5 separate regions of the Homo sapiens genome follow, and regions 2, 3, 4 and 5 are each linked to region 1. Evidence: promoter capture Hi-C in 16 types of primary human blood cells and fetal thymus (Javierre and others, 2016). All regions are on one chromosome and are shown on one strand. The core of a region is centred on a gene start or on the middle of the fragment in contact, and the rest is flanking DNA. Distances in the headings are between cores, read along the strand shown. Region 1 holds the start of LRRFIP1 (LRR binding FLII interacting protein 1). Region 2 holds the start of ASB1 (ankyrin repeat and SOCS box containing 1). Region 3 overlaps PER2 (period circadian regulator 2). Region 4 overlaps PER2 (period circadian regulator 2). Region 5 holds the start of ILKAP (ILK associated serine/threonine phosphatase).

Region 1 (5,962 bases), core at 1,521-4,020:
GTATCTGTTGAGTCAATGAGTGAATAAGAAAGTACTGAACCCAAGACGATTTTGTTGATTTCTATAAGAACCCTGATGAATTCAAGGAGTAGATATTTGCCATTTGAATAGTGATTTTCATTTTCACAGTTGAGAAATAGAAGTTAATTTGTACTAAAACATAAGATGTCACACCTGCTCCCTCCAACCCTATCAATCTGTGCTACTCAGCACTAGTAACAGCTGCACCTACGGCTGGGTTTTACCGGGAGGGGCGTGTAAGAAGCTCTCATATTTACCCACCGCCTAGTTACATACTTTACATTGCTACCCACTTTCTTTAATTCTGACAGCCAGGGGAGGTTTCTTCTTCTCCATTTTAGAGACGAGAAAACAGAGGCCCAGAGAAGAGTGAGTAACTCACCTTCCTAGGATGGCACAGCTGGCTAAGAACTATGTCATTTGAAAGCCCAGCTCTGACTCACAAGTCTATCTCTGTAACTCCAACTGCATCTCCCTCGGTGGGAGGGAGGACCTCAGGGCTCTCAACCCAAGGAGTGTTCCCTTGCCTTCCTTTTCAATCTATTTTATAAAAACCAGCAGATAGGCTGGGCGCAGTGGCTTACGCCTGTAATCCCAGCACTTTGAGAGGCCAAGGCGGGAAGATCACTTGAGGCCAGGAGTTTGAGACCAGCCTGGCCAACACGGTGAAACCCCGTCTCTATTAAAAATACAAAAATTAGCCGGGTGTGGTGGTGCGTGCCTGTAATCCCAGCTACTGGTGAGGCTGAGGCAGGAGGATCTCTTGAGCCTGGGAGGTGGAGGTTGCAGTGAGCCGAGATCATACCACTGTACTCCAGCCTGGGCAACAGAGTGAGACTGTGTTAAAAAAAAAAAAAAAAAAAAAAAAGAAGAAAGAAACACCAGTGGATAAAAGGCAAACTCTGGAAATTTTCATTCTTCTCATTCTTCTGCCCCATAACCACTGACATCAAGACAAGGCTTGCGATTCACTGGCCACCTCTGGCCCTTGCAGGGAACACTTGTAAGGCACTGTGGTCAAATGCATACATAAGTGACTGTCTTCACAGGAGGGAGTTATACTCAAGCTACTATATTTAGCAAATGTCTATATTTAGCCAAAGGTCCTTTAAATGCCTTGTACTTCTTTTGTTTATTAATTAATGTAACAGACATAGACAAACACCTAGTATGTGCCTGGCTCTGTGCTGAGCTCTTGGGATACAAAAGTAAGATATTTCCTGTCTGGGTGTCACCTTCTACAGGTGGACAAATAATGATAAGGTATCCTGACTGCCATGCCAGGCGCGGGCATGCCATGGAGGGCCGTGGAGCCAGGGAGACTTAGGCCTGGTGCGATGTGAGAGGGCTGAGTCTGGAAGGTCTCCTGGAGGTCACAGTGGGCTTCCAGGAATGAATAAGGGTTTGCCTGGAAAGCCCTTTTCTGTATCATACAGAGAAAAACAGAAGTCTTTATTCACTCAGTAGTCAACAAATACTGAGTGACTGCCACATGTCCGTAAGAGCAAAATCAGGTATTTACAACTACAAACACCTAAGGATTGGTTACAGAGTAGATCCCCCAGAATATCTGACGGATACAGCCAGACACCACAGTCCAAATGGCTTGGAGGTGTTTCCTGTGGGAAGAATCACATGTGGAAAAGCCAACACGGAAAAGAACCTGTAAGGCGGGTTACAAGGCAGAGACTTTCTTTGCATTCATACACCCACCTGGCACACAGTTCAAATGGTACAAAGGGAACACAGTCAAAAATTAAGCTTCCTTTGTCCCCCTGGGGCCGCAACCTATTGGCTCCCCTTTTCCCAAGCTGCTGCTCTCTGTCCCTGTACGGCTTTCTGGATGTCATGTACATTCTTTAGCCTTAAGGTAGAATCCTTGCGGAAGGAAAAAAAAAAAGGCATTTGTACAAATACCCATTCTAGTGCGCCTTCAATTTGTCACAGGTAAAGTTCATCACCAAACATGATCTTAGTTACAATAAACTCTGTCCAGGAAACTTTAATGAAGACGTTTCAGTGTGCCTGGACCCGTTTCCAGGCTCAGTCCTGAAAGAAAAATCACAGTGATCCCCAAGTTCATCTCTGAGCTGCACCTTGAGTGACATCGATGGATGGATGACAAATGGTCACCTGAGCGACTCGGCCATTTCAGCAGGGCCATGTGGCCTCCGGCGACCGTCCACTGCCTCCAGGTCGGGCCTAAGCCCCCGCCTCCTCCCATGCCGCACAACAAAGCGGGGCGCTCGCCCCCACCCGGCCAGCCCGGGCCACCTCGCGCGCTGGCGGCGCCCGGCTCCTCTCCCGAGGGCGCAGCGGCCGACGGTGGCCGGGGTGGGGGAGGGCGCGCAGCGTCGCGGGCTGGGCCCGGGGCTGGAGAACGGGTGCGGGGTCCGCAGGCCTCGGAGATCGGGGCCGGGGCGCAGCGCCTGGGGATCAGCGCCCCGGCGCGCGCCTGCCCGGCCCACCCGCCTGGAGCCGGACGCGCAGTGGCACAGACGCACAGCGGGACAGACGGACGCCGGAGAGACCCTGACAGCCGTCCGGCCCCCGCGCCCGCCCGGCGCCCCCCGGCTGCCCTCCCGGAGCGCTCACCTCCCGCGCGATCTGGTTGAGCGCGTCGTCCTCCGCCGTGAGCCGCTCCCGGTTGGGGAGCCGCTTGCGCCCCGATCCCTGGGTGCCCATGTCCATCGACCGCGTCGCCCGCAGCTGCCGCGGGGCCCGTTGCTCCAGCCGCTCGCGCCGCCCCGGCCCGGCCCCGGCCCCGGCCCCTCCCTCCGCCGCGGCGTCATGGCGTCAGCGGGCGCTGGGCCGGGGACGCGGGGACGCGGGGGGACGGGGGCCGCGGGGACCCGGGGGAAGCCAGAGCCGGAGGTCCGCAGCGCGGGCCAGGGACTGCAGGGGCCAGGGACGGCGGGGCGGGGGACGGGGGCGGGGGGCGGAGACGCCAGGTGTCAGGGACGATGGGGGTCCGATACCACGGGGACGCTGCGGATGCCCAGGGCCGGGCACGCGGGACCTGAGGGACCGGGAGCCCCGGAGGGTGGACTTTGCGGGGACTGTTTGGCGGGCCGGTAATCGCGGAGCGACGCGCGCCAGGGCGGTGGGCACCGGTTGAGTGGGGACCTGAGCGGAGAGCGGGGGGGTAGGAAGGCTTTCAGAGGCCTGAGTTGCCTTGAGGGGTTTGCACGGAGGGGTGAGCACAGGATTTGGTTCAGCCTGGCGCTCCCCATTCCGCGGTGAGTCGGGGTGGAAGTCCCTCGCCGGGGTGAGAGCTAGGCTCTGGGGTCAGGCCGAGAGGTGCTCGGATCCGCCCGCCACCGCCGCTCCTGTGACCTTGGCCAGCCTCCTGGGCGCCGGCTTCACAGCGGCATGGTGTGGATGTGTGCGTTTCTGTCTTTACACGCGTGTTCTCCGTGCTAGCATCCATCCTTCTCCCCGCTGTCTGCCCCCTGAGATCAAGGACTTGTCACTTCTCTGGTGGGTCCCCAGCCTCTAGGATCGGGGCAGGTGCGTCGCAGCTCTCTCCTAGTTGTTGAAAAAGTAATGAACTTACCTGTGCTCTCTGAAGCTCACAGTCTATGCTCCAGAGGTGGATTTAAAAGTAAAGCAAATCGGAGGATTAGGTAGGGGTTAAAAGCCCCTGCCTAGGGCACGGCAGGAGCACCGGGTGGGAAAGTTACTGGTGTGTTTGGGGTATGGGGAGAACTTCAGTGTGGCTGGACCTGGGGAAGGATGGGAGGGAGGGTAGTGATGGTAGAGGAGAGGAGGCTGTACTGAAGTCACCTGTGATTTTTTTCCCCCAGTGATAAGGACAGTTAACATTTCGGTGTATTTCCCACCAAGTGGTGTGACCAGATTGCTTTGGATTCTTAAGGAGGTGGCCTGGAAGCTGTATGAAGGTGGGAAGAGGAAGAGGGCCCTTCCACCCACAGTGGCAGGGAAAGCTGTTGGAGGTTTCATTGCAGGGAAAAGACAGCGAGTCCAGTGACATGGGAGGGAGGGCAGATCCAGGTGACATTGCTCTGGGTGCCTGAGCTGACGCAGGTGGGTTGGCAGGGCTGACTGTGGCATTGTTCATGACTGAACTCCGGGAGCAGAAACTGCACCTGCACATTGTAGGCACTAAGGAAATAGGTGTTGACTGAATCTTCCAGGCCATATTTACATTACTTCAGAGGCCATACTCCTTAAGTGACATAGTCCTCCTTGGGGGAAACCTTGAGCCGTGGCCACTTGCACTGCCTTGGTCTTGCTGGTGGCTGCTCACTGTTTCCCAGCCCCTGGGGCACTGTGGGGACTGTGCGTCTTTGCCGAGGCTGGTCCCCATGAGTTCACTCATTCCTGCACCCACACCTGCTGCCTGCCAGCTGCTGAGCTGGAGGCTGGGGCATAGCTGTCCGAGAGGCAGACACGGCTGCTGCCTCTCAGGGCTGACTTGAGATGCCTGGAGCTCCTTAACTAAAGCCATATCCAAGTTCCAACGTCTCCTTTCTAAAAGAAGTCTCCCTTTGCTCCCTGTCCTTCATTGGAACTTTGAGCCACTTTTTGCTAACACCTAAATCCTCCATCCTGATGTGTTGAGGCCAGGAGGGCAGGCGCTGACCCCATCTTCCTCATCTTTAAGCCTTCACCAGGGACTGGCTGTGCCAGTTGCTTAGTGGAGTGCAGTGGTTGAACTTGTGGAACAGAGTTCAGTTCCCAACCCTCCTCCCCACTTTCCCTGTTGGATTGTTGTCCAGAGACAGGAGATTCACTGCCGTGGGGACTGGCCAGAGGTGTGTCTGAACAGCTCCCGCTGGTAGACAGTGTTCTCGGACACTGTGGTGAATTCAGCTTCCTGCCCCTCCCCCATCATCTGTCCACTTCCAGAAAAGAGCCGCCTTTCAGAAATCATCAGAAACAACATTGCTGGGTCCTCCCATGACCCCATGACATAACAACTTCCTGGCTACAGTCCTCTTCCCCTGGCGATGTGCTCTCAGAGTGGACCGGTTCTCACTTCAGAGTCAGTTTCCGCCTCTAAATGGAAATACGGGTGCCCACTGTCTTAGTTCCTTTGTGCTGCTGTAACAGAACGCCTTAGACAGGGTCATTTATAAAACCACGGAAATGTATTGTTCACAGCTGTGGAGGCTGGGAAGTCCAGCATCAAGCCTCCAGCAGAATCAGTGTCTGGTTGAGGCCCATTCCTCACAGATGGTGCCTTCTGTGTGTCATCTCATGGTGGAAGACGGGCTCCCTCCAGGCTTTTGTGTAAGGGCACTCATCGCGTTCATGAGGTCTCTGCTTCAGGACCTGGTCACCTGCAGGCCCCACCTTGCATTGAGGGTTAGGTTTTGACATATGAATGGGGGGGCCACCGCCATCCAGACCATGGCCTCTACCTTGTCAGGGTAGGGACAGTATTCTAGGCAAGAGCCCTTCCAGGGCTTCACACACAGGCAATCGATCAATCATCCTTACAGCTCCTGTCCTCAAAGGCCCAGGTCTGGAATGAATGGTGAACAGCAGTTCCTGTCTGGGCAGAGGGGAGCTAGACAGAGGTATCAGGCAGCTTGGTGGGTCTTCTCCGTGCTTGGGGTGCCTCCTGGAGGAAGATAAAGACCTGCAAGACTCCATCATGCTGATCCATGGGTTCACCGAAAAATTGTGGCTTTTCCTCCACCCTTGACCGTCGGCCCTCCCTGCGTGGAAGTGCATGAGCCTGTTTCCACTGAGAAGACTGGCCTCTGCCACCAGCACTACTGACCCCTCCCATCTAGCCCTTTTCCTATTCCAGATGGTGACACTACCCACCAGGGCTTACTTCAGAGCAGGAAATTGAGAAACTATATCACAGATCTGATGTCCAGGGCCAGAGAATTAACATGTTCATCTCCAAGCCTGGTACCAAGTCCCTTCACAAAAATACAGATGCCACCTTCAGGAAGCCTCCACG
Region 2 (5,962 bases), core at 866-3,365, 800 kb before region 1:
ATCAACAAGCCGGCATGAACAGCTCTTTAAGCCACCACCCCAGTCTTCCTTCAGTAACTATCCTCCCCTGTAATTACTCCACAGTTGCGGTTACTACAGAGTGAAAAAGTTCAAAGTCGGAGTGGGAAAGATTCAGGTGTAGGGCAATAACCAACAGGTAAATGGCGGCCACAGGACTTTTGCTGAGCCCTCTTCTGGGCCCCCTCTGCTGGCCTCTGTGCTATCCATTCCTGGCCCTGCTCAAAGTAGACTCAGAATCTTTCCCCAGCTCCAGATTCAAAAGCAACTTCAAGTTTGTGTTTCGCTGATCAACTACTCCAATGACAACACAACTGCCCCAGGATAGCACTTAAGCTTCAACTGAAAATCTGTTGCCCCTCTACCCGAGGCCGAAACACACTGAATAACAAAACAGCAGTGCATGAGGATATAAAAAGGAGCCCTCAGCTGAGTGTGGTGGCTGCCGCCTGTAATCCCAGCACTTTGGGAGGCAGAGGCGGGCAGATCACCTGAGGTCTAGAGTTCGCTATCAGCCTGGCCAATATGCCAATATGGTGAAGCCCCGTCTCTACTAAAATACAAAAATTAGCCGGGCATGATGCCAGCACCTGTAATCCCAGCTACTAGGGAGGCTGAGGCCAGAGCATCGCTTGAACCCCCGAGGCGGAGGCTGCAGTGGGCCGAGATCACGCCACTGCACTCCACCCTGGGCAACAAGAGCGAAACTCCGTCTCAAAAAAAAAGGAGACCTGTGCAGCCGACAAAGCCAGTGTTTATTCCCCAGGAACTCTCTTTATACTGGGAAGTAGCTGTTGGTCCTCTTTTTCCCACGGAACACGCATCATTCCGTCTCTCACTCTCACATGAGATGACATCCTAGACCCTAAGGTCCTGGCTGTCTCTGAAGTCAAAGTCAACGCCAACCAAAGCCCAGGATGGTAGATGCTTTGTCTGGCTTTTTCTGGTCACTGCAGTATCCTCTGCTGGGTCTAGCCAACAGCAGGTCTTCAATACAAGTCTGTTAAATGATTGGAAGGAGGTGCAGAGGGAGGGATGGATGGAAAAGCCTATCTGCACCAGTCTCCAAGTCAATCTTTTAAGATGTTTAAGAAATGTATTGGTTTATTACTAAGTAGGAGAGGAACCCCTCCAAAGACAAATATAGGCATGTAAAGAAAGCCCAGAACACACGAAACTATTGGCGCGAATGGCAAGCTCAGAAATCCAGCAAGAAGGAACTCCCACCACACCACCGGGAAACGGGAACCTGTCCTGACCGCTTCCTTCACATCTGCATGGTAGGGACACTGCAAGGTGGAGACCCTAAGTAGGACAGTTATTTTGGAAGGTGGGTGTGAGCCTTTCTATCTGCCTCCCTTGCTGGTGGGCCAAAGGCCCCTGGACATGTTGTGTCACTGACGAGCTCGCTGGAGACGGCGTCCCCGTTGTCCCTGGTCTGTGCCTGTGGTGGGTGGGAAGGCTGCCCCCCGCTGTACCACCGGACACGCCGTGGGCGGCAGAATGGTGAAAAAGTGCCTGCCCTCCCTAGGGCTACCCTCTGGCTGGCTTTCCTGATCCGTGCGCTCAGAGCTGGAAGGTGGCCCACGTCCTACTTTTGCGGTTGGGTCATATCAAATCTGTATCGGCTAACGGGAAGGAAGTTACGAGCAAGTTCCACCGGAAAGAAAATCTAGCGCGGGGACTGCACTCGAGGCCGAGGAGAGGGCAGCGCGTCCGTGGTGGGGTCGCCCAGCACTGCGAGCCGCGCTGAACCCCACCCCCGGCCTGCAGGGTGCGGCTCCCTGGCTGCCCCGTGGACCCGGCCAGCCCGGGACGAGGACGCAGGACCTCGGCAGGGACGCCGGAGCCAGCCCTTCGCCATCCCCACACGCCCCGCGGCCCAGTGGCCGCGCGCACGTTACCTGCGGAGCCCGGCCCTGCCCGCCCGTCTGGGCTGCCGCCCTCCGCCATGGATGCTTCCGCCTCCGCGGCCGCCCCTGACCCGCGCACGCCCCTCGGGCAGGAAGCAGAACGACCCGCGACCACTTCCGGCGCCGAGGGCAATGGGGGGCGCGTCGGGGTCGCGGCTTCCGGCGGGCGCGCGCCGGCCTCACTGGTTTCCGGGGCCGCGCAGGGGCCACGCCTCCGCTTCCGGCCTCGCTGTCTAGCAGGGCGCTGGCTGGTCCCTTCGTCCGGCGGGAACTTCGCGGCTAACCGACTCTCTGGATGCCGGCCGCGCTGTGGTTTCCTCACATAAGAAGCCAAGGAGTCGGAAAGCCCGTTGCCTGAGGCAGCAGTCTGGGAATTTCGGTCCGGCGGGCCGTCCCCACCCACACGGACGGGGCGTGGCTTCTGCCAGATGTGGGCGGGGCCCCGAGGGCCGTGGCGGGCGGGACCCGGGCCTCGGCCGGGCTGGCTTGGTCCCCGCAGGTGCCCCCCGCTAGCCACGAGCAGCCCCGGGAGGGTGGATTCGGAGGCGCGGGGACTGGTGAGGGCCCACTGCAGGGCTGAGCGTCGCAGCGTGCTGTGGTTTTAGATGAATGCTCCTCCAAATCCCTTCCATGAAGCCCTCAATCAGGTCGGTAACTGATGACAGCCAGTGGCTGACGCGAAGTTCATTGAATAAATGAATGCATTCGTGAACAACCGAGTAACATTTCTTGCACACTCCCAACTTCAAATATCGCAGCGTCGTCCCACCATGAGTATTGGTGTTGGTCCTAAAGCACGGATTCCCTTGGCTCCTCCCATTCTCCCCTGCTGAGTTAGACAGCGGGGCCTCATGCAGGAGGAGGATTTGTACACAGCACAGCAGGAGGCTGATGAGGGAGTCCGGAGACCCCAGCAGTCGTGGGCGTGAGCTGCTGGCTCATCCGTGTGTACAACATTCCAGACTGGAGTAAGGGAAGCCGCAGGCGCAGCCCCGCGAGTGCCCCTGCTGAGGCTGGCCCTGGGTGGCCCAGATGCACCAGGGGGCCCACTGGGGGCAGACCTGGCAGGCCCTGTGGGGGTTGGAGGCGGGAGTGGGGGTACTTCCTACAGTGGTGTTTGGTCTTGATGACAGCAGAGAGCACCACTGGCATGAGGGACAGGTGACTCCGATGATGACGCTGCCAGGCCAGGAGCCAGGGGTGTGCCCAGCCCCTGGCTCCACCACAGCTGCACATCCCGAACTCGGAGCTTCAGCAACTCCGAAGCCTGAAGCCGCCTCACGTGTTGTTGGATGGATGAATGGATAAACGAAATGCCGTCCATCCATACAATGGAATCGTACTCAGCCTTAGAAAGGAAATGCTGTCCGTCCATACAATGGATTCGTACTCAGCCTTAGAAAGGAAGGGAATCCTGACACACGTCACAACACGGATGACCTTGAAGACGTTATGCTGAGTGAGATAAGCCAGCCACAAAAAGACAAATACAGTACTGTGTGATTCCAATTATTTGAGGTCCCTGGAGCAGTGAAATGGTGGAGCGGAATGGGGGTTGCCAAGGGCTGGGGGAGTGGGGAATGAGGAGTTAGTTTTTCATGGGGACAGAGCTTCAGTTGAGGAAGATGAAAAAGTTTTGGAGACGGGTCACACAGCAATGTGAATTGTGCATTAACAGTACTGAACTGCGCATTTAAAGCAGGTTAAGTTTTATGTTCTATATATTTTACCACAATTGTTTTAAAGAATTTTTTAAAAGAGGTTCCGGTGCAGTCAGTCAGGGGTGCGGGTTGGGTGTTGGGTGGTTCAGAGCACCCAGGTGATTCTAAAGTGCAGCCTGGTGAGAGCCACGTCTCCGGGGGCCTCCGCTGCTCTGCCTGCCTGGTCCCGGTGGGCTCACAGTGAGCGTTCTGCGTGTCGGTAGCCTTTGCATCAAGGTATTGAGTCCCTGAGCAGAGTGGCCCTCCTGCACCTGCACCTCCACCTTCCCTGCCACGTGTTGCCCTTGGGATCCTGCCTCTTAGAAGAACCTGAGGCCGCACGTGGTCTGTAGCGGGGAGGTGGCCTCACATGCCCACCTCCGTGCCTCCTAAATGCCCACATGGTGCAGGGCAGTGTCCACAGAGCCAGCAGTGCTGGAGGGGGAAGGACACTCAATTGCTGGCCACTCTGCCAATACCATCACCCCCATTTCTCAGGACCCTGAGATCTGGGGGCCTGGTGCTATGCCCAAAACCACATAGCCCACAGGTGGCTGAGTTGGGATCACATCCAGACTGTCCAGCCCTACAGCCTGTCTCCCCCTCTGACCTCACCTCTCCAGAGTCCCTCTTCTTCCAGGTCCTCTGAGCCCAAAAGACCCACCAACACAGGGACACTCAGTGACCGCTAGAGATGAAGCAACTTGGGTCCCATCACCTACAAGCAACAGGGATTTACCAGTGCCTACCAGTGCCATCCCAGCCCAGCACAGCAGCAACAGGACCAGTGCAGTGGGCTGTCTTGCCCCTCCAGGTCCCAGTGGCTCCCTCCCGTTTTCCCACCCCTAAAATCACCCGTCGCTTCCTGTTGCCTCCTGGAGGCTCAGGCCTCCCCCAAAGTGTCCCCAGTGACCCCTCTGTGGAGCCTAGCCCAGTCTTTGTGGTGGAAAATTTGGCAGTCTAGCTAAAGCATAAGAATGAATAATCCTTGATCAGAAATGCCTCTTCCAGGCATTCATTCTAGGGAAATAATCAGATGTGGGGGAGATTCAGCTACAGTAGTGCTCATTACCATCATTTTATAACAAAAATGTCCAACAATGGACTTTCTGGTTCAGGAGGTCTGAGAAGGGGCCCCCATCCCTCATCCTTCCTGTTGCAGGGAACTGGGGGCCCCTCTGGAAGCATGGCAGGTATATGGGGGGCTGGAAACATGAGCTCCACAGCTGCAGGCTGGTGAGGATCCTGCTGGGCCTGGGTGTGCTGGTGCTGCTGTCGCTTAACCCCCACAGCTGTCTCCGGGAATTGGGCAGCAGATGTCACCCAGGCAGGGACCAGAAATGGGAATCTCTCCTGATCCTAGGCCCTGTGGGCCTGTGTTTGGGGTGTCTCCTCCCAGGAGGCCCAGCCCTCTCTTCCCCTTTGAAGGATCTCCTGCTTTGAAGGAAGCAGGGGATCTGAAGGTTTACCAGGTGAGGCCACGAGATGAGGGCAGCCCGCTGACCCTCCAGGCTTTGCCCTGGAAACATCTTTACCAGCCCCTGCCCCGCAGACCCTGTCTCAGGCCTTGGAGCCCACCTGCAGAGAGTCAGGGTGTCTGCCCCAAGCTAGGGAGGCAGATCCACATCCTTCCAGCTGAGTCACCAGGACAGGGTGACTCCTCTGAGCACCAGCTGCCTCCCTGTCAAATCGGGCTGATAATACCCACTTTGCAGGCTTTGTAAAGACACAAAATCCCATAGAATGTGCCACAGGCTTCCTGGGGCAGAGAGAGCCTCAGGACACAGTGGGCATCGGTGCCATGGCTGCTAACGCTATGGCATGGCTTTGCTGAGTGGAGCCACGCCCACCTCCAGCCTCCCACCCCACCCCACCCTGTCCTAAACTGAGCCCACCTTCTCTGCCCAGCTTGGAACAGAGCAGGGCTCAGGGGTAGACGCAGTGTCCCAGCAGGCCCTCAGCTTGGGGCTGGTGGGGCTGGGCAGGGCCCAGGCCGTGATGTTCCTTGCAGCCCTCGAAGCCTCCCTCTTCCAGCCAGGTCGGCCTCTGCCTGGATGTGGTTTAGCCTGGCAGTGGAGGTCCCAGGGAGGACCGGGAAGCCCAGCTGTGGGGACTGCAGAGGACAGTGTGGGCCCTGGGAGTCCTGCCAAGGGGGTGCCCTCTTTCAGCCCCCCTCACAGGTGCTGTGCTGCCTCCCTTGGTGTGACCGAGAACTCCACTAGTGTCAGGAGGCCACAGCGCTCAGTGAGCCCCTGCATCCTCTACCAGGGCCTGCGTCTCTCCAGGCAGCACCTGTGGAAGGCAACTACCATGTGCTGGTCACTGCCACAG
Region 3 (5,962 bases), core at 2,447-4,946, 660 kb before region 1:
GCTCTGTCAGGTCATTGAACAGCTGGCAGGGCCACTTGGCGTTTAGTCAGAAGAAAGACAGGCTCTGGGTGTGCTTTTACCTTTTGAAAACTACTCTGTTTGGCAGAGGGAGCCAGAAACACACAATTCCATAAGCTTGGCAGAGACTGTCGCCACACTTCTGGAAAGCTGGCCCACCTTGGGAACCAAGGGAGAATTAGTCTAGAGGGGGCCTCTGATGGACCCCTCCCCCAGCCCACGCACTCCCCCCTAGGGACCAGGCCCTCCTTTCAACTCATTATGCTCATCGTGTACACATTTGTAACAAGTTTGTTACCATATCTCCAAGTCTAGAGCAAATTAGAAGCAGTAAATGAATAGCAGTGACTGGTGACAGGAGTCAAGGCCACTTGGTTTTCAGAGACTGGTAGTTCCCAAGACAGAGTGAGCTGCCGTGCTGAACCCTCACCGGCCTCGAAGGGTTCCTCGTGCTCTTCCTGGGGTGACATAGAGGAATCAGAATCCACTCTTTAAGAAACCAGGTACAGGAGGAGCAGATGCCTGAGCTTCCTGCAATTCGGAGTAGCTCAGTCCCTGACCACCGGGGAGCTAGGAGGCTGACACTTTTGCCTTTATTTGCTTTAAAGTCTTGTAGTTCTAAAAATGTAGGGATTTAAAAGTCTGAATTGAGATCATTGAAGGTGTCCTAGTGAGGCCAAGACAATGCCTCCCCGGTGCACCTCCTTCCCTCCATATTTGGATGGCTGCGGTCACATTTTCCTCAGTTACCCAACCGTTGCCATGGAGAGTGCGGCTGTTTATTTAGCAGGACAAACATTTTCTCAGGATTACAGCAGGCTGGCCTCAGGGAGTTGGCTCCTACCAGGAAGTAGAAAACATGTTAGAATATTTGGGGTTGTAAAATCCTGCAGGGCTTGCAGAGACAGTACATGCTGTATGAGCCCTATTATGTAAAGTTCGAAAACAGGCAGAATTCACTAGGCTGCAAGAAGCCAAGCTAGTGAGTCCCCGCGGGGTAGATGGTGGCTGGGAGGGCCACCAGGAGCCTCTGGGGGGCTGGCACTGTCCTGCCTCTGGTGACATGTGACATGGCATGTTGTTTGTGGATATACATCAAGCTGTGACCTCATGAGGTGGGACTCCTCTGGTGATTGAACACTGATTTCTGATTTCCACAAAAAATGCTTTTCCGCCTTAGGTTTGCAGGTATTGAGTACAGTAAGACTTTACCAGTCCTGGCAGTGGCAGTGGAGGCTGGAACTGGGTCCCAGGCTTGCTTTCGTTCCTAATTTTTAAACACTATTATGGAAAGTATGAGTATCTCTGAAAGTGGGGAGGATAGGGTAACGAACCCATGCGACCCCACCAGCCAGTAGTCTCTGCTCCTGGCCCCACTCCTTCCCCACCCCCACCAGCTGCTTTTCCTCCTGATCCCAGGCTCTCTGTTCTTGTGGTGGACTGCACTTTCTGAATGGTGCTCTGTCAAGTTGAGGCAACCCAGCTACCAAAAATGTGGCCAGGTGACCTGGTCAGGGGTCCGAGCTTAACCTCTTTCTTTGAGTCTGACTGTTCTTAGGGGCAGAGCCAGTAGGCGGACATGCAAAGAGGGCCTCAAGGGCAGGTTCACGCCCAGAGGCTCATGTTGGCTTTTGGCAGCCCCTTTTCAACCAGGCTGCCATTTTCCCTCCTGGGCTTTGGTACCCTGAGCACATAAGTGCATGCCCACCCTCCCTCCCCCTACCCGCCTTGAGGTGGAAACAGGTTTCCTAGGAGCTCCCCAGGAACAGCTGGTCCAGCTGGCTATGGGCACACATCTGTGGAGGGCAGGAGGCAAAGTCCACTTTGACAGGGACGTTGGTTTTGCCAGCTTCTCAAAATGAGGCTGGTCTATTAGAGCCGCTGAGGCTGAGAGACGCATTTTCTGGAATGACGAAGTTTCTGATAATTTGGCTTTCACATTTCTGCCAAGCTTACTCTACCCTCTTTGCAAAAATACTTATCTTCCACCTAAGGTAATGTCGGGGCACCAGTGAATCGTATTTAGACAGGCTTACAGGGGATGGACTTAGGGGTGAAAACCAGGAGAGCTACGTGCAAAGCACCCGGGGCCCAGACAGCATGGTGGCTTCAGATACCTGATGCTCCTCTAAGGACTGCCTGGGCTGGAGGTGGCACTGAGTTCTTAGTCCTTTAAATATAAGAATACAAGCCAGAGACAGCTGCCATGACAATTCATTCTCTCTCTTCCAAAATTACGTTTGTTGCCCATCTGTTTTTCTTTTTCGTTTTCTCTCTCTTTTTTTTTTTTTTTTGAGATAGAGTCTTGCTCTGTTGCCCAGGTTGGAGTGCAGTGGTGCAATCTTGGCTTACTGCAGCCTCCACCTCCTGGGTTCAAGCAATTCTCCTGTCTCAGCCTCCCAGGTAGCTGGGACTACAGGCACACACCATGACGCCTGGCTAATTTTTGTATTTTTAGTAGAGACGGGTTTCACCATATTGGTCTGGCTGGTTGCGAACTCCTGACCTCGGGTGATCCACCGCCTCAGCCTCCCAAAATGCTGGGATTACAGGTGTGAGCCACCGCGCCCAGCCGCCGTCTGTTTTTCTGTAGTGATTAGCAGTGATAAGCTAATATTACATTCCAGATATCTTGCATGGGTTGTGTCATTTAATCCTTCTAACAACCAGTAGGAGGCAGGAACTACTGTTACCCCATCTCACAAATGAGGACACAAGGCTCAGGGAGGTTAAGGAACTTGTCCGAGATCACATAGGAGGTGGTGGAACCCAGCTGAAACCCAGGCCACCCAGGACCTGTGCCCTTAACCACTCTGCTGCTGCCTCTGATCACCTTAATGACTCACTCAGAGCAGAAAGGACCAGCTGCTTATCTGGGGGAGGGCTGTGGGGATGAGATGGGTGGTGTCCAGGGTGTTGAGGGGTCAGGAGTGAGAGAATGCCCTTGGTACCCTGGGCGGCCCCTTGGCAGCTCCACTGAACCATGGCAAGAGCACCCTGAGAGGTCTCCTTGCTTCCACCTTGCCTCAACCCTGCAACTCCATTGAAGTGTAAGTGAGATCTTGTTGCACAGAACTCTCCACAGTTCCCTATCGGAGTTCTGACTGCCCCCGCAAGGCACTCCGTGATCTGGCCTTGCTGCCGCCCTCCTACCGCTGCCCGCTCTGCTCCAGCCTCGTGCACCTTCCTCAGACAGGTCAGGTGCTTGCCTGCCGCAGGGCCTTTGTGTGTGCTGTCCCCCTGCCTAGAATGTTCTTCCTCTGGTAGCTCACTCTCCACTCTCTTCAGGTCTGCCTTCAGGCTCTCTTGAGAATGGAGTCTGAGGTGAGCACTTTACTGGGAATTGCAGTCCCAGGGTAGCAGTAGAAAAGGAAAAGGGAGGTAAGGAAGAAAAGTCTGGAAAGCACACACAAGACGACACCCTGCTGAGATGAGGCTCTGCCTTACAGAGACATCCAGCTGGGTGCTCACCCCCTTGGGACCTCTTCAGAAAGGCTGTGCCAAAACAGGAAGGAAGGAAAGAAAGACAACTTCAGAAAGGTCCATTTGAGGGAGAGAGGGAGGGGGCATTTTCTGCCAGCTCCTCCTTGCCTCCTGTCCAGCAAGCGAGCTCTCCCTCCTATCCAGCTGCCTCATCAGACCCTTTGGCAGCAGGCAGGACAGTGAGGAGCAGCAAGGGCCCCCACAGTGGTGTGGCACGTCATCCGAGTCCACACAGGGCAGGCAGAGCCAGAGATGCCCAGTGCCAGCCTCAGGTGTGAAGCCAGAAAGACCTGCTGAAGCACGTGGCTGCAAGCCTGAGAGAGCGAAGCCCAGGGACCCTGAGTCAGTTCACACACGAGGGCTCGTGCGCAAGGTCCTTGTCAAATGCCACCTACACCTGGGGCCACCCTCATTGAAATGTCACTCCCAGCCCCTCAATTCCCACTTGCTAGTTGCCTACTCTACTGTATATTCTAGTTTCTTGTTTATTGTCTGTTTCCCCCTAATGTAAGCTCCCTGAGGGCAGGAAAGATGTCTGCTCTGTTGTCTGCCCCAGTGCCAGCCCTCAGTGCTAAGCGAATAAGGGCAAGTCAGTCAGTGGGAAACTGCTGGCACCGGGCAGGCCCTGCCTGAGTGCCATCTGTCCTTTTTATTGTTGTTGTTATTTATTGTTCTTGGACTTGTTCATCTATGTCTGAGACTCTCCCCACATCAGTCTTTCTGGCCTCTATCCTTTTAGTGGGTGTATAGTATTCATAGTATGGATGTCCCAGGTTTGTGTCTTCAACAGTACGTGCCAGGCCCTGGGGATCCAGCATTGACCAACGCAAACCCCTGCCCCCATGGAGCTTAGGTCCCAGAGGGGAGGCAGGCAGTAAACAGCCCAGCCCCTCAGTGCTGGCGAGGAAAGCCCACAGAGCGGCGGTGGAGGCACAGAGAAGGAGCTGGTGGGGAGACGGTGCTGTTCATGCAGGCTGCCCAGGCATCTGCAAGAAGAGGGCTGTGGGCACGAGGGAGCAGCAAGTGCAGAGTCTCTGTGGTCAGAGCACACAGGGCTGGGGCTGAGGGGTGGGCAGTTAACAGGACATGCCCAGGAGATTGCAGGAGCTAGACTTGCAGAGCCTTTGGCCCTTGTGCACACTAGAATTGTGCTCTGAGCAAGGGTCTGAGCACGGGCCGGGCGTAAGCTAAGCCCCTTCACCAGGATCGCTCTAGATGCTGTGTTAACCATAGCAGGGCCAGGTGGAGGCAGGGGACCAGTCTGGAATTGGAGGCTGGCTCCTGGCCAGGATGATCGTGGACAGGATGCGTAGCCTCCCTGTTGATGGTTCTTCCCAGGTTTTTATATTCAGTGCTCACACATCTCTGAGCACATAAATAAGCACTTCTCTGCAATGGATTCCTGGAGGTGGGAAGAGTATGCAGATTATAAATGTTGCTGGGAACTCAAATTTCTCTCCAGAAATACCCTATTACTACACCACCACACACAAGAGCCACTCTTCTCCACCTGAGCAACGCTGAGTGTGATCAGTCCTGTTAATTTTTGGCAACCTGATGGGCAAGATAACCTCGTCCTTTGCATTTTCCTGATGCTAATGAGGTTGAGCCTCTTTCTACAAGTTCACAAATCTTTTGGTGTCTCTCTTTGTGGGAATGGCCTAGGCAGTCTTCTTGCTTAGTCTCTCTGTTCCCAAAAGGTATTACCATTCATCTTTCATTGAATTTGCTAGAACTGCCATTAAATGTAAAATAAAGAAAAAAGACTAGAATAACAGATTTGCTTATTTTGTTCCTGACTTTAAGGGGAATGATGCTGGCATTTTGGGTTTTATGTGACTCAGGATGTTGATAAAACCAGCTATGTAACCCACAATCAAGTATCCTGTAATTGAGATTTCCTCCCTTTGACCATAAGCTTTTCCTCTCAAAGCTATTAATATATGTAGACGGCCGGGCCTGGTGGCTCACGCCTGTAATCCCAGCACTTTGGGAGGCCGAGGTGGGCAGATCACGAGGTCAAGAGATCAAGACCATCCTGGCCAGCATGGTGAAACCCCATCTCTACTAAAAATACAAAAATTAGCTGGGCGTGGTGGCGGACACCTGTAATCCCAGCTACTTGGGAGGCTGAGGCAGGAGAATTGCTTGAACCCAGGAGGCGGAGGTTGCCATGAGCCGAGATTGCGCCACTGCACTCCAGCCTGGTGACAGAGCAAGACTCCCTCTCAAAAAAAAAAAAAAAAGTGTAAACATTGTCTTCTGGAAATGTAATATTGCTGAAGAGATATCCAAGACTAGTGTGATTTTTTTTTCATCCTTTATGGGTAACTTGTTTGTTCTCTGTGGATGTTGGTAGGACTTTCTTTATCCTTGAAGATACCGTTTGTCATCTGGATGCACTTAGGCGTTGGACTCTTGTCCTTTGATTGGCAGATTCAGATCTGTCTCTGGTTCAGGA
Region 4 (5,962 bases), core at 2,082-4,581, 620 kb before region 1:
GTCCACCAGTGGATGCAGACGGGCGGCCTGCCCGCAGCCATCGACGTGGCAGTAAGCTCACGGGACTCGATTTCTGATATGGCCCTAAAAGGCTCTGTGATGGGGATTCTCTGTACTGTCTTTGCAACTTTTCTGTCAATTTAAAACTTCTAAAATTAGGCCGGGCGCGGTGGCTCACGCCTGTAATCCCAGCACTTTGGGAGGCCGAAGCGGGTGGATCACGAGGTCAGGAGATCGAGACCATCCTGGCAAACACGGTGAAACCCCGTCTCTACTAAAAATACAAAAAATTAGCTGGGCGTGGTGGCGGGCGCCTGTAGTCCCAGCTCCTCAGGAGGCTGAGGCAGGAGAATGGCGGGAACCCCGGAGGCAGAGCTTGCAGGGAGCCAAGATGGCACCACTGCACTCCAGCCTGAGCGACAGAGCAAGACTCTGTCTCAAAAAAAAAAAAAAAAATTTCTAAAATTAAAGGTTTATGTTTTTAAAGGCACAGCACTAGGTCCACTTCAAAGAACTTTTCTCCAGTGGCTTTTCAATGTTGTTTCCAAAAAGGCTGAAAAATCTAATCTCAGTCACTTGCTGAAATCTGTTTTTTCTTTCTTTCAATTCTGTTTTCTATTTTACAAAAAAAAACCCTCTCCTGTCACAAACCCTCAGTGTCCCTGGAGAACATTAAATAATGGTGGAAAAAACAAGTTCCTGCTGGCGTGCTCTCAGGCACATGTCCTTCCAGCGGCCCTGTGGGCACTCCAGCCCCTCTCTCCTGCTCTCTGCCGACCCCTCCCTCCCACATACCGTGGAAGCTGCTCTTGTCAAGGTCTCAAGTTCTCCAGCAGCCGAACACAGTGTCACTTCTCAGTCCTCGTCCCAGGGACCATTGGCAGCAGTGAGCGGCTCTCTCCAGGGAGCTCTTGCTGCCCTTGGTCTCCAGGCCCTGTGCTCTTCAGGCTGTCCCTCTGACCTCTTGGCCTCCCCACAGGCTCTTCCTCTTCTGCCCACCCTCGGGCTCAGTGTCTGCACCTCTTTTCCCCACCTGCACCCTGCAAGCCCTGGAGGCATCCTGGGCTCTACTTATCAGGCCCCAGCTGGTGGGTTGGCAGATTGTCTGGGTTTAACCTTGAAGGTAGATGAAGCCCATCACCACACAGGTCCAAGCCATGAGGATGCTTCCATGGCATGAACCCTGGATGTCAGAGTGGCCTCGAAGCTGCACTCACTGCTCCCTGTGTCACCTCCGGTGACAGTTCAGATTCCTGCCAGCACTGTGCCACCTCAATCAGAATAAATGGTTGCAAAGCCATACACATCTGACCACCTATCCACATCTTCTACCTCATCTCCCATTTTTCCTCTCCTTCCCTCCTCTCCAGCTACACTGGCCCCTTGGCTGTTTCCCCGACTGCCCTGGCAGGCCCCTGCCACAGGATCTTCGCACATGCCCAGCCCTTTGCTTGGAATCCTTTTTCCTGAAATAGACCCGTGGCTCACCCTGGCTGCCTTAGAGTCTGTTTTCCACCCGCTGCTGCATTAGTAATCTGCTGCTGCATGGCAGATGGCCCCAACGCTTAGTGACTTCAACAATGAACTTGTATTACCTTGCACGGTCTCTTTGGGTCAGGAATTTGAGAGCGGCTTAGCTGGGTACTTCTAGCTCAGGGTCGTTCCTGATGTTGACGGTAAGATACTGGTGGGGGCTTCTGTCACCTGCCAGCTGGAGGACCGGCTTCCAGGAGCCTCACTTGCAGGCCTCTCACACACTGCTGGCTCTTGGCAGAGGCCTCAGCTCCTTGCCATGGGGACCTCTCCGTAGGGCTGCCTGGATGTCCTCACAGTGTAGCAGGTGACTTCCCCAGAGAGGAAAAGAGGAAGCCAAGGTGCCTTTTAGGACCTAGAATCAGAAGTCAGGTACTCTTTGTTAGAGGCAAATGCCTAAGTCCAGCCAAGGTTTAAGGAGAAAGGAATTAGGCCCCACCTTTTGAGGAAGGAGTGGCAAAGAGTGTGGACACGTTTCAAAATCATTGCGTCACCTTTTCTTTGGCCTGCTGTGAATGTCCAGTTGAAAATCACAGATGTCCTCTATATACCCTATGCCTCTGGAGCCCTTCTTAGTTATTGTCTCTCTCTGCTACTAGAGTGCCAGCTCCTGGGACAGGGATTTTGGCCTTTGCTGCCAGCCACCTCCTGGCTGACACCTGGTCACCTGCACCTTACTCAGTTTGAATGACTTTTTATCTTTTGAGACAGAGTCTCACTCTGTCGCCCAGGCTGGAGCACAGTAGCGTGATCTCCGCTCACTGCAAGCTCTGCCTCCAGGGTTCAAGCGATTCTTCTGCCTCAGCCTCCCAAGTAGCTGGGACTACAGGTGCCTGCCACCACGCCCAGCTAATTTTTTGTATTATTAGTAGAGATGGGATTTCACCGTGTTAGCCAGGAAGGTCTCGATCTCCTGACGTCGTGATCTGCCCGCCTCGGCCTCCCAAAGTGCTGGGATTACAGGCGTGAGCCACCGCGCCCGGCCAATTTGAATGACTTTTGTAACAACTCAGATCTCAAGTTTGTTACTGATTTCTCTTTTTTTTTCTTTTAAGGAATGTGTTTACTGTGAAAACAAGGAAAAAGGTAATATTTGCATACCATATGAGGAAGATATTCCTTCTCTGGGACTCAGCGAAGTGTCGGACACCAAAGAAGACGAAAATGGATCCCCCTTGAATCACAGGATCGAAGAGCAGACGTAACCCCTGCCCCACCTCAGCCCGGCAGCCAGCGAGGTACACCAGGTGGTGCTTGGAAGAGATGAAAGATCTTCATGGCTGTTTCCACTGAAATGGACACATATGCTCATGTTGCTTTTTTTGTTTTAGAAAAAAAAACAACATAGTTTTCTGAAGGGGCGACTTAAAACTGTGGAGAGTGGGGAGAGTTCGGAAAGAAATATGTTTTTATATATAAAATATATATGTGGAGTTTTGTGGGATGGGGAAGAGATTTTAGTTGTTATTTAACTTGAGAAAGACTAAGCGCCTCTTAGTGTCAGGGAAGTTGCCTCAGTGCTCCCAGAAGTCCTGTGACTGTGACGAGACCTCTGTCTGCTGCACCAGCTGGGGACTCTGGCTTCCAGAGCTTTCCCAGGGTGTTTGGATCAGATCAAATTTTGTCCTCTCTTGGGGACTGCTTTTTATCTGAATTATCATTTAGTCAAGGTAGAGTGTTTTTTTATACATACCAAATGGAGATAGCAGCCTCTCCTAGTTTTATTTCAAAACGTTTCACATTAAATGGTGTGAAGCGTTGTTTGGCAAACCAACAGCTTTGGCTTCTGGTGTGGTCAATATTTCAGTCTGACATAGGTTTTGTTTGTAGTGAACAAAGTTGAAACATTTGCTCTGGACTAAAGAAGCCTAGTGGTTTGTGTGGCCAACTCCATCGGATGAATGCACACGCAGACAGACCCTCTGTATATTTCTGCATTATTCTTGTCTCCTTTTCAGACCATGATGGCCAATATGGAGATTAAAATATGTCATCAGTCATCTCTTTATGGTGACTTCCCTTTGCAAACCAGGCTGTGACCAACACATGTGAGACCCAGTCCTGTTTGGTTTTCTTCCGTTGGAACCACCCAGACATCTGCTTCCACCCAGCCAAGCCCACATCACATCTCCTGGCCGAGAGCAGCCACTGCCACTCAGTCTGACAGCTTGCGACTGCATCTGTATTTTCAGGGGTGCAGTGAGCTCACCTCTCCCACTGCACCCTGGGTTGGGTGCACAGCCCTCATTCTTTTCATGAGCCCGACCTCTCTCGGAGCAGCTTCAGGCCTCTGCCAGTGTCCCCAGCACTTTTAGGTCATTTGGACACTTGGGGAAAAGTGAGGCCAGTCTGCCCGGCTTTTTACAAAACCTCATGTTGCATTGTATATTCCAAAGATGGTTCAGAAAATTTAATATTGGTCCCTGGTGGAAATTCAAAGTTATCACTGAAGAACAGTTGACTTAAAATTGGACCAAGACTATGAGGCTTAAAAGGGACCAGGGTTTTCTTTTTTTTTTTTTTTTTTTTTTTTTTTTAGATGGAGTTTCTTTTTGCCCAGGCTGGAGTGCAGTGGCGCCATCTTGGCTCACTGCAACCTCTGCCTCCCAGGTTCAAGCGATTCTCCTGCCTCAGCCTCCTGAGTAGCTGGGACCACAGGCGACTGCCACCACACCCAGCTAATTTTTTGTATTTTTAGTAGAGACAGGGTTTCACCATGTTGGCCAGGCTGGTCTCGAACTCCTGACCTCAAGCGATCCACCCACCTCGGCCTCCCAAAGTGCTGGGATTACAGGCGTGAGCCACCACGCCCAACTGGGACCAGGGTTTTCTGTTTTTTGATGGAGGTGAAATCTCTTTGTAATCCACTAGGTTTTCATCGTAAAACCATCTTATGCCTGACTATTAAACCTATTCTTCATAAACACAAGAACACTTTAATTTTTCGTTAATTTACAAAGTAACATCAGCTGCCTATGCCTATGATAAGGTAGCAGTCTGCATTCTTATGGCCATTAGATGTTACAAACTCCTTGCCTCTAAAGTCAGATCATGAAGGGATAGGTGTTCATCTAAGGTTACAGTTATGTTACCGAAACACAAAACTGCCAAAATCTTACTCTGCTGTTATGAATGTTTACCATCAGCATTATTTTATCATTTAATATGTGCTCACTGATTGTTAACTGTAGCTTCAGCGCGTGCCAAGCAGTTGACTTAATAGGATCATCTTGTGAATTTGTTTACGTGATGCCAAGCATCAAGTCATGTTTTCTTTAGTGTGTGTGCTTACACAGGTGTTAAACAGTTTTTCTCTATTTTAAACTGAGCCTTCTTTTTAATATATTCCCGAAGAGATATGTAAATAAGCTCTCAGAGTTTCTGTGATGATTTGTTGAGCCTTGCTGGACAAGTGGTTTGTTTGTGTGCAAACCAAACTTTCTTTACCCAGTGCAATAGATTTGTTTGACTGCTTGTGTCTTTTTATGACCTGTTTGCCTTTTAGAAAATTGGTAAATAAAGCAAGTATATTTTTATTTTTACTTGTATGTATTTTTCACATAGCACAAAGGAAAACCTGAATAGAGAGCAAAGATTATTTAAAAAAAATTTTTTTAAAGAACTCCAGGAATTCTGCATTAAAGAATCTTACATCCCAAAGGCCTCCTGGCGGTCAGCTCCCTTATAGCGTTTGCTTCTTGCTGGCTCCCTTTCTTCCTGTGCGTGTCACACACACACCCTCCTTCAGGCTGCAGGAGTGAACTCACGTAATGCAAACCTAATCGTGTCATGCCCCACAGTCTTTTCACTTTTAGTTGGAGGGGTGCAGCTGTCTGGCTCAGCCCCAGAGTGCCCCCAGCTCTGCCTCCACGCACCTCTGTCTTCCCTGCATCCCTGCCCTGGGTTACCTGGCCTTTCCAGGCTGGCTGCCTGTCTTCTGGTCATCGGGCTAGGTAGGGCTAAAGGTGGGGCGGTCAGGAGGCTCCACCAGGAAGGTCACATGTCTCCATTGCGAATGATATGGGCAGGGCGGCATAGTCCCCTGACCCCAGCCCTTCTTTCACAGTGATGAATGAAGCCTTGTGAGGCCAAAACTGTGGAAGCCCGAAGAGTTGCTCCCCATCCCTCCCACTCTTCAAACCATGACCCTGGGGGTGGGAGCAGAGAGCTGAATGGATCCTGAACCCAATGCCCAGCCTCTGAGAAGCTCCCTGAGCAGAAGGGAGGGGCTCTCCTCTGCCTGCTAGCCTGGCTGCCTAACGCCAAGTGCTGATGGGATAAAAGGCAAAGTCCTCCCTAGCGAGCACAGAGGCCTCTGCAAACTGCTCTAAATGGCCAGATATGGTTGTTTCACTGAACCTGAGTGCTTTTGGAAGACTCTTAATTGTATTTTTATTTACCATATAACCCCAAGGGATTTATTTCCAAA
Region 5 (5,962 bases), core at 2,582-5,081, 580 kb before region 1:
AAATCCACATAAGCCGCTTATGTCTCTTTCTCTCCCAAACTTTCATCACTTCCTAACTAACCTTGTTACAGACCTTCAGTGGTGCCCTTAGGAAGCTCCCATTATACATCCTGATCAGCTCGTTACTGCTCTATGGGACCTATGGCTTCAAGGAACTTTCCAGGACTTTACTCCTACCCAAATAACTTTTTTCGCTTTTTGCTTGTTTCTTTCAATATAAATTCCCTAATCACATCAACCTCATCAATACAACCACTCCTCACTGCTCTCAAACTAGAACGCTCTATAAACCTTACACAATCTCTCTTGCGGCAAGCTAACTCTTCCTTTGCTCTGGAATGCTGGGTGTGTTTATCGCTGTCTTCCTTAGCTTACACAGCCCTTCCTACATTCCTTCATGACCTTTTAACAGGAAACACAACCCTAATTTATAAACTCCAAAAAGGAGCTTCCTTTTTTGAAAGAGCTGACACTCTAGTCGGTGATTATCCCACTTCCAGGGCCGATCAGGCCAACAAATTATTTCAAACCTAGGATAACTCCCTACAGCGCCTTAAGCCCCACGGCCCTCCCATTGAAGGGCCCATAACTAAACACACTCCTCCTCTTATAATGAGCCTCACTTTGCTTTTCAGCCTCGGAGGGAAATTTCCCTGTAGGGTCCTTAACATCTAACCTATGCAACCACACTATCATTGTTAAACACCCCTCTGACCATCAAACTAACCAGGCTAACTACCAAGTATCACCTGAAGCGAACGGAGCATTTCTGCAGCTGGCTCGTTTGACAGCCTTTCCCTCAGCCAATGCCTCCAGCCTAACCTGTGCTGCTCCTAGTGCCCACAATTTTCCTTGGCTCAATATCAATAGTGCAGCATCCGACCGCATTAAATCTGTAAAAAATAACTCTTCCTATACCTCTAGTATAGTAGGTGTCTCCCAGGCCTCCTCCTTGTCCACCTGGAGTAATGAACCACAGGAAAGAACAAACACCTCATCTTTAATTCACTTATTTTCTGTCCATATCTCTGCTTGTATTTACAATAAAGGCTTGTTCTTTTTGTGTGGTCTCAACACATATTTCTTTGTCTCCCCATCAACCAGACCAGAACCTGTACCCTAGTTTATCTTTCTCCCTCCATTGGACTAGTTCCTCCTAATCAATCTTTACCCGTTCCATCCATCCAATATGTTAGGAAGAGGAGAGCCATCCACGTCATTCCTTTAATGGCTGCCTTAGGTATAACCTCCGGGCTTGGGTTGGGAGCAGGCTGATTCGCCACCTGCTTAACATACTTGAAATCTCTTTCAACAGAACTGCAGAGTTCATTAGAGCATATGGCCCAAAGCCTTATAAGAGTCCAAGGCCAACTAGACTCCTTGGCTGGAGTAGACTCCTTGGCTGGAGTAGTCCTCCAAAATAGACAGGAATTAGATGTTATAACAACTGAAAGAGGGGACCTCTGCCTCTCATTCGGTAAAAAATGTTGCTTCTATCTCAATCAGTTGGGCCTAGTAAGAGACGCTGCTAAAAAACTTAAAGAAAGGGCTAAAAAGCTAAGAGAATAACAAGACAACCAAATAAATTACTGGTTTAAAAACAAAGTCCTAATATGGGTCATCCCATTCCTGGGCTCTCTCCTAAAAATATGCCTAGGAATAATGTTCTTACCCTGCTTAATTAACCTTTTTCTAAGTTTTTTTTATTTTTTTGAGACGGAGTCTTGCTCAGTCGCCCAGGCTGGAGTGCAGTGGCGAGATCTCGGCTCACTGCAAGCTCCGCCTCCTGGGTTCACACCATTCTCCTGCCTCAGCCTCCCAAGTAGCTGGGACTACAGGCACCCGCCACCATGCCTGGCTATTTTTTTTTTTTTTTTGTATTTTTAGTAGAGACGGGGTTTCACCATGTTAGCCAGGATGGTCTCGATCTCCTGACCTCGTGACCCACCCGCCTTGGCCTCCCAAAGTGCTGGGATTACACGCGTGAGCCACCGCGCCTGGCCACCTTTTTCAAAGATTTTTAACCAGCAGGATCATGGCCATCTCACAGACAATTACCCAAAAACATCTACAGACAGCGTTACTCCTACAATCAATCTGAAACCAAAGAACTCTCTGCTCACTCCCCCAGCAGGAAGTAGCCAGAAAAAATGCGCTGCCCCTTGTCCTTTTCATAACTATAGAGACTGGATTGATAGAGCAGGAGCATTGCCATCTTGGACAAACACCACCTTTCTAAGTTCCCCTTGATTAAAAAACCACCTAAATCCTACCCCAAAACATCAGCCTAACGGCTAATGTCAGCATAACCAGAAATATTCCAACCCTAAGATAAACCTCTCTTCAACCAGAAACATGCTAACCCTGAAATAACCTCTCCTCCAATAGCCTCCCCTCCGACCAGAGACATTCCAACCCTGCAATAAACGTTCCCCCACTTCCAAAACCCTTAAATATCCTTAGTCTGTAAGAGAGAATGCTTAGTCTGTAAGAGAGAGCGCTCCTGATCGAAATTGGCCAGAATCCCCTCTCAGGTTTATTCTCTGAAATAAACCTTTTAATGTTGAGCCGCTTTTTGTATTTATTTCCTCTTTCTTTAACGGTTACAAGCATTGTTACTTGAGTGTTTCTGCTGTAATGGAGGAGGCAGCATGAATATCTCAAACGGTTGCTAGTGAGAAGCCACGCAGATGAGAGGCATGAAGCCTTGTTGGGCTCCCTCCATGTCCTACAGCCAGAGAGCGTCAGAAATACATCTGCCCCAGAATGAACTGGGCTGAAAACTCTTTGCATGGAGGGAGACCACATAACCTGGGGAACTTGGGTAAACGATGTTGGAACGGAGGTGTAAGATTTGGGTTTGTGTTAGTTGATTTGGGGAAACATTTATGGAAACGGGCCTTTGCTCCGGATTGGATGTCAGGAAGAGGAGGATTCCATGATTGGATATCTTGATGAAGCTTATCTAGACGGCAGGAGGACGAGACAAAGGCTAAACATGTAATGGTAAAGAAGCAGCAATCACTCTTATTGGCCAAGACGAGGGGAATGTGGTCACTTTTGTGGCTTGGACAGTGTTCCTGTTTTGTCTGTGTTCACACTTGATTACACAGTGGTCTGTTTTTTTCTCTTGATCTGTATCACGGCCTGATGTTGGTGTTTTATGAAATTGTTCACATTCAAAGAGAACACCCAGGCCTAGCTGTTTGTGCCAGACCAACCCCAAGTCCTGGCTGCAGAACCAGGCCAGCTCCCCGATGTCAGTGGCCGCCTTTCTCTTTACAGGCATGGAGGGGGACACCATTAAGGAGGAGCCCCTCTTCTCCGCTCCCCACAGACACCAGTGGGTGCAGACAAGTCAGGGAATGCCTCCTTTCCCTCCGGCATCTTTTGAGGTTTCCGTCCTGACGCCCAGGGCCGCTCCATCCAAGCCTCGGTTTCTCAGTCTCTAAAACAGGCCAGAAACCAGGCACGCCGTGGTGAAAGGACGAGCCGAAGAGATGGCAAGAGCTCCAGAAAGCCTTCCCAGGCATCAGGGGCTGCCCTTGAGCTCAGACGTTTCTCTCTGGACAGGGCTTCTTGGACAGGAACTCAACGAAACTTGACAGAAATCGGACACCCCCAGCCAAGGAAAAGCAGGAGGGGCCCGGGGTTCGCCAAGGCGGGAAACACCGCGGGGCCCAGACGGCGCCGTCCGCCCGGCTCGCAGTCGGGGCGCGGGAGGGGCCCACGCGCATGCGCACCGCCCCGCCCCCAGCCGCCCCGCCCAGCCCGCGCGCAGCCCTCTGGGGCGGCCGGGCCACGCCGCGCGCCGATTGGTGGCGTCCGGGACTCTCCCTGCAGGTGACTGACGGCGCCGGCCGCCCCTGCCCGTCGCCCGCCCGCTGCTGCCGCCCGCCCGGGGTGTGGAGCCCGGCCGCTGCTCGCGGGCTGAGTGTCTGTCGCTGCTGCCGCCTCCACCCAGCCTCCGCCATGGACCTCTTCGGGGACCTGCCGGAGCCCGAGCGCTCGCCGCGCCCGGCTGCCGGTAAGCGGCGTTGCCGCCGGGCCGGCCAGGGAAGGGAGAGCAGGCGGGATGGGGGCGGCCTGAGGCCCGGGGCGGCTGAGGCGGCGCCCGCGCTGGGAGGCGGCGGGCGGCGCGGGCTGCACGGGGCCTGCTCCTGCCTGGCCAGGCCCCGTCCGGCCCACTGGCGGCCCTGTCGGAGGCCCGGTCGCTCGCGGAGCTCGGAGAGGCCGCTCCGCCATTTTCGCTACGCAGGAAGGAAAGGGCCGAGCCGTCGTGGCCACGGCCCCTCTGCGTGGCGGTGAAAGGCGCCGGCGCGACCGCGTGGGCCGACCCGAGGGACCGGCTCTGAACGCCCGGCGGCACCGCGGGCCCCCGCGCCCCGATTCCACCCGCGGCCTGGGCTGCCTTGCGCGTCGCCCGCCCGCGGCTTCCGGGCCGCACTTCACCCGCGGGCTGTGGAACGGCCGCGTTCCGGGCCGGTGCAAGTTCAGGGGCTTGGCGTTTTTATTTGCACTGGAGATTGAATTAATCACCATCTTAATCCTTCGTGTTTTTGAAGCCTGGAAGACAGGATGCCTCCTCTGTCATCCTGTGATTTTGTGATAATTAACAGTAGTTTTTTTTTTTTTTTTCTGGTCCACGGGAAGTTCCCCCTCTCCTTGAAGTTAAGGGGTCCGCTCATCTCCTAAGCGCTGGCCCCTGCCAGTGGGAGTCCCTGTGGGCTGTGGTTTGAGCTCAGCATCCTAGCAGCTTGAAACAGGGCCTGTGTTAATCCCTGCGTCCTGTGGGTTACAGTCTCCGGGTTTCATCTGTCAAAACGCGTGAATATTTCATATGCAAGACTTCCAGCTTGATGTTGTAGTTTAGGGCCTTATTACAAAATTTAACTTGGGGGCAGAAAACCTGGAAAACTTAAGACGTTCAGATTTCCAGGCCCACCTCAGCCCCAGTAAATCCGAATCCCTGAGAGTGGGGTTTCCGAATCTGTTACTAAATCCCCAGGCCAACCCAGCGGGGGCTGGAGACCAGTGGTTTGGGAGCTGCTGTTGTAGGGTAGACGGAGGTGAGTAAGGCCCAGCCTTCGCTTTCTAAGAGCTGCTTTCTGAAGGGTACTAATTACGGTAATTAAAACTGGCAAAAGTTAATGACTGTGGGAAATGCTGAGGACTCTTGAGGAGGGATTGTCGGGCACCGAGAGACTGGGGAAGGAGGCAGTGTTTGAATTGAGCTTCCAAGGATGTTCAGGCTTGTGATTTGCAGTAATTCTGGGCGAGAAAACATTTTATTTTATTTTACTTTTTGAGACGGAGTCTCACTCTTGTCGCCCAGGCTGGAGTGCAATGGTGAGATCTGAGCTCACTGCAACCTCCGGGTTCAAACAATTCTCCTGCCTAGGCCTCCCTACTAGCTGAGATTACAGGCGCCGACCACCACACCCGGCTAATTTTTATATTTTTAGTAGAGACGGGGTTTCACCATGTTGGGTAGGGTGGTCTTGAACTCCTGACCTCAGGTGATCCGCCCGCCTCGGCCTCCCAAATTGCTGGGATTACAGGTGTGAGCCACCGTGCCCTGCCCCCACTGACCGTTCTGATGGTACAGAGCATCTCAGTAACTGGTCCTGGAGTCTTTGAACTTGACTCAGCCATTCATTTTCAAAATAACCACGGTTTTAGCTGTGGGTAAAAATTGGATTTGTGTAGCAGTCTTTTTTCTCTTGTCAATGGAGTATAATTTCTATCTGAATATATTTGGGACAGCATTTGGATTCACCAGTGTGCGTGTAAACCTATGAGTCTTAAAATCTCCATTGCTTTTTACCTGCAATTAATTAGGTTCTGCTCAGGAGCAGGCTCCCTTGACTGACAAAAAACCTGGCAACTCAGAATCTCATAGGTTGGCACCTTAGCAGCCTTTTGCCAGATACAGTGGGAAAGGTACATCCTGTTGCCGTTT

The links. Contacts are between HindIII fragments. The CHiCAGO score rates a contact against its expected background, and 5 or more counts as called.
Region 2: a contact is called between the fragment with the promoter of ASB1 here and the fragment with the promoter of LRRFIP1 in region 1, in 5 of 17 cell types (activated CD4 T cells, total CD4 T cells, naive CD8 T cells and 2 more). The highest score is 8.6, in activated CD4 T cells.
Region 3: a contact is called between a fragment that was not itself captured here and the fragment with the promoter of LRRFIP1 in region 1, in 1 of 17 cell types (naive B cells). The highest score is 6.9, in naive B cells.
Region 4: a contact is called between a fragment that was not itself captured here and the fragment with the promoter of LRRFIP1 in region 1, in 1 of 17 cell types (naive B cells). The highest score is 5.3, in naive B cells.
Region 5: a contact is called between the fragment with the promoter of ILKAP here and the fragment with the promoter of LRRFIP1 in region 1, in 5 of 17 cell types (total B cells, naive CD4 T cells, non-activated CD4 T cells and 2 more). The highest score is 8.3, in total B cells.

What each region holds. Positions count from the first base shown.
Region 1 is chr2:237,624,395-237,630,356 of GRCh38, reverse strand. It overlaps LRRFIP1 (LRR binding FLII interacting protein 1), which reads right to left and starts at 2,770. Exons shown (of 24, transcript NM_001137550.2): 1 at 2,617-2,770. The coding sequence starts at 2,712. The HindIII fragment of the contact is 5,154 bases long and covers 1,785-5,962 here.
Region 2 is chr2:238,423,080-238,429,041 of GRCh38, reverse strand. It overlaps ASB1 (ankyrin repeat and SOCS box containing 1), which reads right to left and starts at 2,115. Exons shown (of 5, transcript NM_001040445.3): 1 at 1,923-2,115. The coding sequence starts at 1,971. LOC124908002 (a long non-coding RNA gene) reads left to right here and starts at 2,148. Exons shown (of 2, transcript XR_007088163.1): 1 at 2,148-5,962. RefSeq lists enhancers at 1,367-1,486, 2,999-3,534 and silencers at 1,737-2,256, 2,277-2,666. The HindIII fragment of the contact is 6,850 bases long and covers 357-5,962 here.
Region 3 is chr2:238,280,792-238,286,753 of GRCh38, reverse strand. The region is part of intron 1 of PER2 (period circadian regulator 2); the gene reads left to right. Among named protein-coding and RNA genes, the nearest start is that of PER2, 4.8 kb to the left of the region's middle. RefSeq lists enhancers at 2,651-3,150, 3,998-4,498. The HindIII fragment of the contact is 3,450 bases long and covers 1,972-5,421 here.
Region 4 is chr2:238,243,151-238,249,112 of GRCh38, reverse strand. PER2 (period circadian regulator 2) reads left to right here. Exons shown (of 23, transcript NM_022817.3): 22 at 1-51; 23 at 2,589-5,069. The coding sequence ends at 2,738. Among named protein-coding and RNA genes, the nearest start is that of HES6, 6.1 kb to the right of the region's middle. RefSeq lists enhancers at 457-957, 1,766-2,965. The HindIII fragment of the contact is 6,913 bases long and covers 1-5,962 here.
Region 5 is chr2:238,201,564-238,207,525 of GRCh38, reverse strand. ILKAP (ILK associated serine/threonine phosphatase) reads left to right here and starts at 3,831. Exons shown (of 12, transcript NM_030768.3): 1 at 3,831-4,027. The coding sequence starts at 3,973. RefSeq lists enhancers at 2,950-3,822, 4,785-4,844 and silencers at 3,635-4,204, 4,325-4,414. The HindIII fragment of the contact is 5,343 bases long and covers 2,963-5,962 here.